Regions from separate parts of the Homo sapiens genome. Here region 2 is linked to region 1. Evidence: promoter capture Hi-C in 16 types of primary human blood cells and fetal thymus (Javierre and others, 2016). All regions are on one chromosome and are shown on one strand. The core of a region is centred on a gene start or on the middle of the fragment in contact, and the rest is flanking DNA. Distances in the headings are between cores, read along the strand shown.

Region 1 (6,797 bases), core at 3,566-6,065:
GGGCGAAGGACATGAACAGACACTTCTCAAAAGAAGACATTTATGCAGCCAAAAAATACATGAAAAAATGCTCATCATCACTGGCCATCAGAGAAATGCAAATCAAAACCACTATGAGATACCATCTCACACCAGTTAGAATGGCAGTCATTAAAAAGTCAGGAAACAACAGGTGCTGGAAAGGATGTGGAGAAATAGGAACACTTTTACACTGTTGGTGGGACTGTAAACTAGTTCAACCATTGTGGAAGTCAGTGTGGCGATTCCTCAGGTATCTAGAACTAGAAATACCATTTGACCCAGCCATCCCATTACTGGGTATATACCCAAATGACTATAAATCATGCTGCTATAAAGACACATGCACACGTATGTTTATTGCGGCATTATTCACAATAGCAAAGACTTGGAACCAACCCAAATGTCCAACAATGATAGACTGGATTAAGAAAATGTGGCACATATACACCATGGAATACTATGCAACCATAAAAAATGATGAGTTCATGTCCTTTGTAGGGACATGGATGAAATTGGAAACCATCATTCTCAGTAAACTATCGCAAGAACAAAAAACCAAACACCGCATATTCTCACTCATAGGTGGGAATTGAACAATGAGATCACATGGTCACAGGAAGGGGAATATCACACTCTGGGGACTGTGGTGGGGTGGGGGGAGGGGGGAGGGGTAGCATTGGGAGATATACCTAATGCTAGATGACGAGTTAGTGGGTGCAGCGCACCAGCATGGCACATGTATACATATGTAACTAACCTGCACAATGTGCACATGTACCCTAAAACTTAAAGTATAATTAAAAAAAAAAAAAGAAATCTGTGGAATGACTCTCATAACTCAGAAACTCTGGCCAGTGATCCACCTTTAAAAAGCTATCTCATTTCTGTGTATAAGAAGGTGTGTGTGCTCTGTGTGCATCTCCTCACGGAGCTGTGTGAACAGATGTGAGTTAAGGGCACGTACTTTAATGTGGTTGATAATTTTAATCACATCCTGCAAAACGTTAAGTTCATTTGATACTTTCTGGCTAGCTAGCATTTCTCTATGGACGACTCAGTGTGTAGACTCACATTCAGAAGCAACCTCTTTGACCCGAATAGTGAAACCAGAAAGCTGTCCAGTCATGGCAGCTGCTCTGTCGGTCCATAAACTGACACAAAATAACCAATTCAGTTTTGCTATGTAATCATTCAAAGACTTGACTAGTTCTGCCGCTGTGGTGTTGGTTGGCAACAAAAGTGCACATAACATATCCTCATGCACATCCACCTGAAAAATCACACAAAAACAAGCATTGTTGACTTGTTGTCAACCTCAGTAAATTAATCAACCTGGATTTTGTACCAGAGTGACCCATTAATCCTTTCTTTTCTTTTTTTTTTTTGAGATTGAGTCTCGATCTGTCACCCAAGCTGGAGTGCAGTGGCATGATCTTGGCTCACTGCAACCTCCGCCTCACGGGTTCAAGTGATTCTCCTGCCTCAGCCTCCTGAGTAGCTGGGATTACAGGCGCATGCCACCATGCCTGGCAGATTTTTGTATTTTTAGTAGAGATGGGGTTTTACCATGTTGGTCAGGCTGGTCTTGAACTCCTGACCTTGTGATGCGCCCGCCTCGGCCTCCCAAAGTGCTGGGATTATAGGCATGAGCCACTGCACCCAGCCCCATTAATCCTTTCTAGTAATTGTGCCTCGATATCCTCTGCTATTTCATCATTTCCTCTAATTATGGTGCTAGCCCAAAGAGGCACACGTGCCACCTTTTGAACTGCAGCATCTCCTAAAAGTTCATGACAAATGTCCTTAGCAGCAGGCAGGTTCAATTCTCCAGTAGTAAAGAGCTTCTTAGCTTAGCAATGCTGTTAGCCACTAAGAATGACACTGTCAATGCAGACACATTTGATGGAAGTGGCGGCCTTCAATAATTGCTTCTGTTCTTCGTGTCCACATTTTTTCTTTTGAAAAACTCCAAAGGCTTCTCTTTTTATGTAGGGTGCTTGGTCTCCATGTGGCGAAGCAGTTTTGAAGGTTTCATGGGTTTGTTGGATAGCCGCTTGCCACATATTATATAAAGCAGGCTTGGAGAATGTGAATCACCTGTTGCAGTGAACCTGCAATTTAAGTAGGACTCTAGGTATTTTCTTTCACATGCAGCTTTCCTTTTATTAGCAGTCTTAGAGTTTTCCATTTTCTCATCATTGGGTCTTTCCCCATTTTCAAAGAAGCTCTCCAGTGACATTTGTTTTTTACTCGTTTTGGCTAGAGTTAGGTTGTGGGCTTACCAAAACTGTGACTGAGGCAAGTGCTCAGTGTGGGAAGGAAGCGCGGACGGAAGTGGTAAATAAAATAATGGGCGGGCCACGCAAGACTTTAAAGCCTGCCATCAGATGCAACTGTACAACTGAAATACATCAACTCACTTGCCACTATAAAGCTTGCCACCAGTGCAGCTTTTGTCACTTGACACTCACTGACAGGGTTTTGATATGAATCTGCAAGCAATTGATTTATTATGGTCTCTGTGCAGTCAAACCTCTTTGCTAATGTTAATCTGTATTTGCAGCTGTTCCCCAGCCCTAGCGGCCACACCTTAGCTCCACCTCAGGTCATCAGGCATTAGATTCTCATAAGGAGTGCGTAACCCAGATCCCTTGAATGGATAGTTCACAAGGGGGTTCACACTCCCATGAGAATCTAATGCCACTGCTAATCTGACAGGAGGCAGAGCTCAGGTGGTAATACAAGTGATAAGGAGAGGGTGTAAATACAGATGAAACTTCACTCGCTCGCCCACTGCTTACCTCCTACTGTGTGGCCTGGTTCCTAACAGGCCATGGACTGATACTGGTCTCTGGCCCAGAGGTTGGGGACTCCTGTGTTAGAACATGTAGATGCCAAGTACCTGTGCCAACCACAGGTCCACCTTTGCATACTTGACCTTACCAGTATTTTATGAATATATATGTACAGCTCCCATGTTACCAGTGAAGGGTCTTGACTATGAGTCATACAGGTTCTTGGCGTTTGAACAAAGAATTGGACAAAACACATAAGCAAAGCAATGAAAGAATGGAGCAATGAAGGCACAGATGTGTTGAAACAAAAGTACACTCCACAGCTCAAGAGCACCTGTTACAGAATTTTCTGGGATTTAAATACCCTCTAGAGCGTTCCCATTGGTTACACCCTATGTAAATGAAGGAGTGGCCCATAACCAGCCTGCTTGGTTGCAGGAGGTGACCAATCAGAGGCTGAAGTGAAGTTACAAAGTTACACATGAGGACTTGGCCTGCTACCAGTCTGATTATTTGCCAGAGGGGACCAGTCAGAGGTACTTTCCATTTTTTCATCTGCAATGCAGTGCATTGGGAGTAGCCTCCGATCCTTTTGTTACTTGGGCATGGAGAGGTGGGGTTTTCCTTTTGGTTCAGCTCTAGGAAGTCAGCAGGGCCTTCGGTTCCCTGTCTCTAGACCCTGTTCTCCTGCCTCACCCATAAAGGGAATTCCCTAGAGATACTAAAGGCTGTCTGTCTCTCTTCTGAGCAGCCCACTCTGCCTCTCAGAGTGTACTTTTGGTTTACAATAAACTTTTTTGCCTACTCTTACTTTGTACTTGCTTTCAAATTCTTTTGTGTGGTGAAGTCAAGCACCTGAACCGGCCCACTGACAACAGCAAGGATAGAAGCAGTGAGATCGGTTACAAGGCTATTACAATAGTTCCCTCCAGAAACGGCAGTACTGAGAGGTGGGGAGAAGTAAGTTCTGGATTTTCTTTTTTTTTTTTTTTTTTTGAGACTCGCTCTGTCACCCAGGGTGGAGTGCAGTGGCGTGATCTCGGCTCACTGCAAGCTCCGCCTCCTGGGTTCACACCATTCTCCTGCCTCAGCCTCCCGAGTAGCTGGGACTACAGGCGCCCGCCACCGCGCCCGGCTAATTTTTTTTTGTATTTTTAGTAGAGACGGGGTTTCACTGTGTTAGCCAGGATGGTCTCCATCTCATGACCTCGTGATCTGCCCGCCTCGGCCTTCCAAAGTGCTGGGACTACAGGTGTGAGCCACCGCGTCCGGCCCTGGATGTCTTTTTGAAAGTAGAGCTTACAGGATATGCTGACTGATTAGACCGGAGATGTCACAGCATGGTGTCAAAGCGACTAATATTTTTGGCTAGAATCACTAAAGTTTACATTTATGAGATGGATAAGACTGTGGAAGGTTTGGGGAAGAAGATCCGAAGCTCAGTTTTGGACCTGTTAGGTTCAACATGCCTCTTAACACATCCAAGCAGAATGGTCAAGGATGCAGTCTTCCACATGGACAGGACATGAAATGTCTGACATCGAACAATAACAAATAACATTTTGACATGAGGAAAAGTATTTGTAATTGTAATTGATAGTTCATTCACTATAATTTGTCCACGTTCTTTTTCAGGCCATGTCATATATATACCTATTAATATTTGTAATAGACAATTTTGCTCTTTTCTACTTAAATTGTTATATACATTTCTCCACATTGCTTTATAGGCCTAACAACCATGTTTAAATTCTGTATCTTCATACAGAGGTAATATTTAAAAAAGAAGACGAAGACAAAAGGACTCCCTTCCCTCACCCATATACCTATGCCGTCTTACTGGGAGCAAACACTTCTTTAGCTCCGCAAAGCGATTGCACTTTCTCTTCCAAGTCGGCAGACGGCGCGCGAGCAGCGTAGGCACTGCTCCGCCTCCAATCCAGTTGCTCTTCTTTCTTTTCCTCACTCTCTTTTTCCTCGCGTCCTTTGCCCCGGAAGTGCTCTTACAACATTGGCTGCCGGCGTGACTTTGACCGCTTCCCGGTGCGTTACCGGCAGCTGAACCCACCCGGCGCCACGGGACTTTGACGCGTGCTCTGCGCTTGCCATGAGACTCCTGGGAGCTGCAGCCGTCGCGGCTCTGGGGCGCGGAAGGGCCCCCGCCTCCCTAGGCTGGCAGAGGAAGCAGGTACCGGAGCATAGAGAGGCTAAATCGGGACCATTCCCGGAACCTTGTGATCCCTTCTGGGCAATGGAAGGCCGTGACACCCCCTGGGTCCTCATGACTGACAGCTCCGAATACTGGCAGTCGCTCGTCAGTGCTGAAAAGCACCTCGGTGCCTGCACATTAGCTCGTTAGCTCGTTTGTTTCGCTCTCTGGTATCCCTAGGGTTTAATCAACTAAAAGTGTCTGTCACTCAGATACTTTGATATTTTATCCACCTTTTCTAAGGTTTTTTTTTTTTTTTTTTGCCTCTCTTTTCCCGTGAATAATTGTGCATTTTGGATGTGCAGTCCTATAGGGAAAGGTTTATATTGTATCTTCATTCCATCTAATAGGGATCCCCATCCCCTGCCACCAGAGTAAAGTTAAAACAAGCTTCATGAATTGTTTTTGTTTGGAGGGAATTGGAAATCTTTGGGGGCTGTCTTGGAGCTACTAGCATCACTGCATAGAGCATATAAGTTCTCAAACATATTTGTCATCTGTGAACTACAATAAAGGAGAAAGGGAAAAAAATTAAGTTAAATTTAAGCTAAAATTTGTATTTTCTATTAAAGTATTTTTTGGAGCTGTCTTTGTGATTTTATCTGCCCCAGTGTGTATTTTCAAATCTGCAGTAAAAAGTGTCTCCCATTTTAATTAAATTTAACTTATTCATTAATTAATTTTAAAAGAATACGTCTTTACTGTCTTGTTTTGAAGTCTGTCCTCTGATTACAAGAGTTCCAGGCTTAAAGGTTTCCCCTGGTGCCTTTCTCAAGCTATCTCATATCCAGTGAGATTTCTTGGAGGAATAATGTCCACCATACTCCTTTTAATTGTCTGTTGTTCTCTCTTATAAAAGGTGCATAGAATTGAGCTCTCGTATTTTTTTCAGGTTAATTGGAAGGCCTGCCGATGGTCTTCATCAGGGGTGATTCCTAATGAAAAAATACGAAATATTGGAATCTCAGCTCACATTGATTCTGGGAAAACTACATTAACAGAACGAGTCCTTTACTACACTGGCAGAATTGCAAAGATGCATGAGGTATATATTCACGGTTGATTCCGGATTAATTAGAACCAGATTTTAATTGTTTTGTTGCTATTATTTAATAAAGCTTATAAACCTGAAAGATTAAAACAATGGTAACAGCGGACTTTTGACAGTTAGGCTTATCTGAAAGTTGCTTAAGTTAAGTATCTGTGTTCTGGTTTTATTTTTATTTTTTATAGAAGAGGTCTCACTTTGTTGCTCAGGCTGGTCTCAAACTCTTGGGCTCAAATTATCATCCTGCCTCAGTCTCCCACAGTGCTGGGATTATAGGCATGAGCCACTGCACCTGGCAACTGTTTCCATTTCAGTTAAGATTTCTTTCCTTCTTGGAATGCAGGGACAGAGAAAGTCTGAATTGCTGTGCTTGTGTTTAGGTGAAAGGTAAAGATGGAGTTGGTGCTGTCATGGATTCCATGGAACTAGAGAGACAAAGAGGAATCACTATTCAGTCAGCAGCCACTTACACCATGTGGAAAGATGTCAATATTAACATTATAGATACTCCTGGTGAGTTGGATTCTTGGTTTTATTGCAGCTTCTTTGGCAAAAGCACATTTGGTTCTTTCTCTTACTGTGACCCAATTAGTTTTTGATTGTCAAATACTCAAAAGTGTAACACTGAATTCCTATTAAAGAAGACTAACTTAGGACCTAGAGCACTTCATCCTTATGTAGTTTTCTTGAAAATTTGTGCAAGTAAATTGTGAGTAGGCAGATT
Region 2 (6,800 bases), core at 3,253-5,752, 4.3 Mb before region 1:
ATTCCTATTTCAAAAGGGAAAATAAAGAATATCACATGTTGACTAAGTCTGAAAAAAGATATTAATCAAAATTCGACCAAACTGAACATAGCTATTTTTAACAAACATATTAATGCTTTCTAAATTTTGCCATATCCAATACTGGCAGTTTGGATATCTGGATCTACCAACCTGCAAGAGATAAGTGCACCAAATTATAAAGAACAAAGCCAAAGCACTGTTAAAGAAAAACATATTGACATAAACAAGAAGAGACAGCTTATAAGTTCCATGGAGAAGAATTAAAATAATGTTGATATGTGGGGCTACTGAGTACAGAAGCAAACTCCTGGCCTAAACAACTATTGAGGACATTACAAATTTATATAATTCATAAATATGGCTTTGTCTGCAGAACAAGTTTTGTATGCCATTTTAGGAGCAAGGAAGAGAATATTGTATTTTAAAATTACTTCCTTTCAAATAATTAAAATAAAGTCATTGAATATCTAAACCAAAGCTATCTAGAAAACCTCATATTTGGGTTTCATTCTTCCTCAAAATTGTATACATTAATATTTTTAATAATAATATTCACTGTATAAACGAAGTCATCTTACTACCTCAAAGGGATGTTAGGGGTTATTTTCATGTATAAAACAATTTAACTTGAAAACCTACCTTTTAAAAATTCCCCACTTAGGCCGGGCATGGTGGCTCATGCCTATAATCCCAGCACTTTGGGAGGCTGAGGTAGGCGGATCATGAGGTCAGGAGATTGAGACCATCCTGGCCAACATGGTGAAACCCCATCTCTACTAAAAACACAAAAATTAGCTGGGCGTGGTGGGTGCCTGTAACCCCAGCTACTCGGGAAGCTGAGGCAGGAGGATCGCTTGAACCCGAGAGTCGGGAGTTTGCAGTAAGCCGAGATTGCGCCACTGCACTCCAGCCTGGCAACAGAGCAAGACTCCCTCTCAAAAAAAAAAAAAAAAAAAAAAAAAAAAAATATATATATATATATATATATATATATATATATATATATATATATGTATATACATATATATATATTCCCCACTTATTCTAACACATTATACATACATAGATGTGTATATATCAGAAAAAGTTTTAAGTTTGAACACTGAAATTATAGCTGGTAAATACTCAGAAGTGAAATGTGATTCATCCAATCAGAAGTTTATTTACTGGAAGTCTTTAGAATGCCAGGCACTGTTCTGAGTCAAGAGACACAGAGTGAACAAAACAAATCCTATCCTCAAGAACTTACACTGGCCTGGGAGGGGAAGACAAACAGATGTCAGGTGGTAACAAGTGCTATGAAAAGTAAAAAATAAAGTAAAATAAAATAAAATAAGGTTGAGAAAACAGAGAAGGATGAGAGATCCTATTATTCTACATAGGGTAATCATATGTTAAGATATAGTGTAATAAATTAAAATTAACTGTATTTTTAGTAGTACTTTTTTTGTACATTGATTTTAATTAATACAATAATTTGTATATTATTTTTAACTGAAGTATTTGGTCTTGACTTAACTGCAAGGTATTTATCCAAACTAACTTATAGGAGGAAATTTTACTTTTTAAATTTCAAAGATTTCAATTATGGACAAAAACAGGAGCAAACATGAGGAAAATTGTTTATGAACCTTTTTTTTCTTTTTGTCCTTAATTCAAAAGAATAAAATTAACTTCCAATACTATCCTGTAAAAGAAAGTTCATTAATTTACATTTTTTCTTGATATAGAGCTTTAAAAAAAATTGTGTATTTAATTTGCAAATCAAATTAAATAGTGGAAAAAAGCACTTTACCTTTTGCATTCCATACGAAGGCAGCTTTTCTCTGAAATGCTGAAATTTAAAAAAAGTTTTAAATTTTCACAGAAGATATGTAATCAAATTATAATCATGGTATTTAGGATACATCACAGGGTAAATTGGCTAGAATCCGAAAGTATTTTTATTATCTCATGGCTTGTGTAAAAACATTATAAAGAATAATTTACCAATTCCTTTTATGTCTGAAACATTCAAAACCAGAACTCCATTACATCCAGCAAAATAGAGACAATGCTTTAAGTCAGTGGCAGTAAAATGAAATCGGATCTGTCCTCTAACAGTATTCTAATAATTGCTAAATTACTTTCACTATTTTTCAATATGTTTTATATATTCATCTTAGATTTGATTTCTATATTATGTTTTTCCCACCCAACAGTGCACTATTTACTAATACATTAAGTACTGGAGCAGAATCAAAAATTTCAGGATATACTTGCCTTTGAGTGTAAGAGAAAACTTAAAACAAGTAATATCTGCAGTCAGAAAATCTGGTACTGCCATTTTAGAGCTGTGATCTCAGTTAAGTCAAACTTAAAGTATGAATGCCTCAAAGATTTTATCTCATACGGTTGCCACAAGATCTAAATGAAAAACCTTTATATAAAAAGCAAATACCAGTTTCTGAAACATATAAGCTACTCAATGAATTTCAAATGTGTTAAATTACAATTAGAATACTACAAAAGGAATGACTATTTTTCCTATATTTATGTGACAATTTCTTCCTAATTCTGAAAACTTTTATGGAACTCTATACCCGTATTACATAAAAACATTTAAGAAGCAGTCCTGTAGTTTACATTCAACTAGGTACATATAATGTAAAAAAAAAACTTCAGTGGCATAAAAATAAAGTCAGCTTTAATAAACACCCTTTATTAAGATGGAAAAAATCGGCTGGGTATGGTGGCTCACGCCTGTAATCCCAGCACTTTGGGAAGCCGAGGCAGGCAGATCATGAGGTCAGGAGTTTGAGACCAGCCTGGCCAGCAAGGTGAAATCCCGTCTCTACTAAAAATACAAAAAGTTAGCTGGGCATAGTGGCACACGCCTGTAGTCCCAGCTACTTGGGAGGTTAAGGCAGGAGAATTGGTGGAGGTTGTGGTGAGCCGAGATCGTGCCACGGCACTCCAGCCTGGGTGACAGAGCAAGACTCCATCTCAAAAAAAAAAAAGGAAATAATTAAAATATATATATATATATATATATATATATATATATATATATATATATATAAAATAAATAAAGAACTGTCTTTGGTAATCTAGTATTATATTATTGCCATGTTTGTTATGGTCAGGTAATTCTTACCAATACCATAAAAATAACAGTCAATGTGAAGACTGAAATGAATTCTAGTCATTTAAAATAACAAAAGCTACCACACTTATCTTACCTTGTAATAACTTACTTATCTTGTAATAATTTTTAAATTATCTAAAAACTATTTTTAATGACATAAGTATTAACACCCCAGGTAGTCAAATGTTACCATCTTAACACATAATTATACACAAGCTATCCCACTGCATTTCAAACTGGCATTAATCGTATTTGCTTTATACATGTAAATGCCACTGGAAAGAGAGGTATAGTCCAATATTCTTTCCCAAGGCAGCCAAAGTTTCTACTTTGTTAACTTTTGACCATAACGAAGATGTGAGATAATTCAACTATAAGCTCTCTGAGGACAGGAAATATCTTATTACTCTTCAAAAACAGTAATAAGCATAACTGGCTGGTGTGGCTCACTCCCATAATTACAGAATTTGGGGAGGTGGAGGTAGGAGGATTGCTTGAGCCCAGGAGTTCAAGACCAGCCTGGGCAACAAAGCAAAACCCTGTCTCTACAAAAAATACAAAAATTAACCAGGCGTACTGGCACATGCCTGTAGTGCCAGCTACTCAGGAGGCTAAGGTGGAAGGATCACTTGAGCCCAGGAGGTCGAGGCTGCAGTGAGCCATGATGGCACCACTGTACTCTAGCCTGGGTGACAGAGTGAGACCCTGTCTTAAATATATATATATACATACACGCACACATATATAGCACAGTAACTGGCATCCAGTAAGTAGAAAATTAATGTTTATTAAAGAACATAAAGAAAAAATATTGCACATGCTAAAAATGATTAAAAAGCTGAGTTGTTAAACACAGCTGAATTTTAGATCTGATTCTGTTATGAGCTATGCAACCTCAGGTAGGTCACTTAAATCTTTTTCCTCATCTACAACAGACATGTAGTCTCTTATTCAAGGTTGTTGAGAAGCTTAAATAATATAGTACACATGAAGCATTTATGACAACATATGGGAAATAGGAAGACCACCAACTTTTTAAATGTTTTACACATTTTTCTTTCTCTGAACTAGATCAATCACCCATCTTTAGTATATGAGTTCTGTCCATCATATACAGCAAAGAGAAAGACACTAATTCCTCCTGTTAAGGCTGTTAAAGCAGCTCTTCTCAACCAGAAGATTCTCAATTAATTCATCCTGAAATTTCCTCCATTTTCAAATCACATTTTTACCCAACAGGCATCAAAGAGCTACACAATTTGGCCCTGGACAACCTCAGCTTATCTATTCTAATACGGAAATCCAACTGTCATCAGTAACAGTCAATGGATCCTTTCTTTCCTATTAAGGAAATTCAGCTTTCATCAGTGAGCCAAGGGATCCTTTCTTTCCTATAGGAGGTGCTATATCCTTCCTTTATCAAAGACAGCAGTATGTATTTACATATTAAAGATATGGCCCTCAGAGTTTCCTCAGTAATTTCTCTTAAACATATACATACATACATGAGACCACTTTATTACATCTCTAGAACACCCACAAATCACACAATTTTATGTTTTAACTGAAAGGGACCTTAAAATATCTTGCCTAGCATAGAAAGAAAATATCAGAATTCAGGAGATCTCAGGTGTTGTGATAGTCCTGTATTTAAAATGTTAGTGAACAAAGCACATCACATAATTTTTGAAATATTTAATTTTATCATCTATAAAAAGAAGATGTATTAAGTAATCTGGAACAAGCTTTACAATTTTAACTGCCTTTACTGCACATGGCACCTCACTAAACTGGCCTAGAAAAGCTGAAGAGTAAGTTTTTTTTTCATTGGCACTAGCATTTCTCAAACATTTCTTCTCACCACATAAGCTTCTGTGGATGAGATAGGATACTGTAGGTTATGTGTAACTTCCATTCCCACTGCTTTTCTCTACCATTCGAAAAGAAATTAATTCCCACAGGGATGTCTTGTTGAGGATCTCACTGATCTATGCCATGCAGCTACCTCTAACCATACATACATTTTTATAAAGTGTAAGAAAAAAATGACAAAATATTTTTTGACATCTTTCTACTACCTGCATTTCAATATACCGAAGGTCATTTTTTTTCTTTTGTAAATCTTCCAATAATTTTTGGTCTAAAGTTCCATCTGGTTCATTTTCTTGCAAGAGATACTCAGAATCTCGGTCAATATATGATCTGTTCCTGATTCTAAACATTTTTTTTTCTTGATTTATCAACTTCTTTTCCTGGATGTCAAGTTTGTTCTCTGAGCATGGTGTGTTCTTAGTAGAAACTTCAGTACCGTATCTGTTTTGACAAAATAAGAAAGGAAGAAAGGTCAGATGAGCCACTCAAACACTGGAACAAAACAAAACAAAACAATACGCTGTTGAAATATTTCAAAGTCATCCAAATCCAAAGCTTTTCTTTTCTCTTAGTACAGTAATTATGAAAATATACTTAGATTCTTATAATAAATTCAAATTTTTCTTCCCTTTAAATAGATATTGCCAGATTAAGTTATTCCTTGTGATAGTTAAAAATAAAAATCCACAGAATAGTCATTCCTTCACTGCGGTTACTTACAGTGTTTCTCTTTTTCTGGATTTCTCGAACTTGTTTTATGTCACAACATCTTTTTTTCTTGCCACCCTTTCTGAGCTACAAATAGGATGCTACAATACACAGTCTTTGAAATACTTGTACTAATTTTTCCTCTAAATGATACAGTTCTTGTAATCTTTCTAAAACGGTAGCAATTTCACTTCTTGCAGATCTCCCAGACAGAATAATTTCATAAATACAAAGAGGACAGGTAGGGAGAACAATAAATAACAACTTAATACATCTCATATCCAGATACACTATTATTCATACCATTTAGCTTTCCTATGGAAACATGCCATCTAAATTTTTAAAAGTCATTTTCTAAATCTGTTTAATCTACATAAGGAAAAAAAGTACGTAAAGGTTAAAATTCACTTATCGAAGAAAATAAAGATGTTATTTTTATTATTAAAGTGTTACTCTTTGCCTATTCTTTAAAAAAATATTTCTTGTCGTACCCATGATCCTCAGGAGCAAACCAGGATATCTGTGCTTCTGACTCTTTATCATTCTTCGCTTGAACAGAATTCAGTAACTGTACAATTTGTTCTTCTCGTCGTTCATCCATGTGTACTACAGCTCTCTAGTTTGTGCAAAGAAAAAAGCATCCTTGTCAACATAAGAAAGCATATGCAAAAATTATTTGATACTGAAGAAAATAAAGGCTAAGTAATATATGTTCAACAAATACATATAAAAGAAAGTTATCCACAGGTGTCCTCTAGCCCAATACCCCCCTTCCTAGACCTAATTAATTGTTAAAATTTTCGTACATATCCTTCTAGACCTTTTCCAACAAGCATTTATAAAATTAGCCCTAATATGATTGGCAAAGAAAGCTCATTTATGTCTCTTCCTACAACTCTGGTTCTCTTACCCCAAACCCTCACATACTAATTATTATGAATTTCTCCTTATCTTAAAATTTCAAAGTTATTAAAACTCAAATGGTTTACGAAAAAAGTTGAAAACTGGAAATAGTTTGGTTGTAATGAACATTTGAAAGTTCTTACACTAAACAGAAGAATAAATTGGTAAG

What was found. Contacts are between HindIII fragments. The CHiCAGO score rates a contact against its expected background, and 5 or more counts as called.
Region 2: a fragment that was not itself captured here is called in contact with the fragment with the promoter of GFM1 in region 1 in 1 of 17 cell types (naive B cells); the score reaches 5.3 in naive B cells.

The regions. Positions count from the first base shown.
Region 1 is chr3:158,639,712-158,646,508 of GRCh38, forward strand. GFM1 (G elongation factor mitochondrial 1) reads left to right here and starts at 4,816. Exons shown (of 18, transcript NM_024996.7): 1 at 4,816-5,004; 2 at 5,918-6,070; 3 at 6,454-6,586. The coding sequence starts at 4,924. The HindIII fragment of the contact is 2,960 bases long and covers 2,454-5,413 here.
Region 2 is chr3:154,309,820-154,316,619 of GRCh38, forward strand. It overlaps DHX36 (DEAH-box helicase 36), which reads right to left. Exons shown (of 25, transcript NM_020865.3): 2 at 6,220-6,344; 3 at 5,227-5,461; 4 at 1,817-1,855; 5 at 1-4. Among named protein-coding and RNA genes, the nearest start is that of DHX36, 11 kb to the right of the region's middle. The HindIII fragment of the contact is 777 bases long and covers 4,115-4,891 here.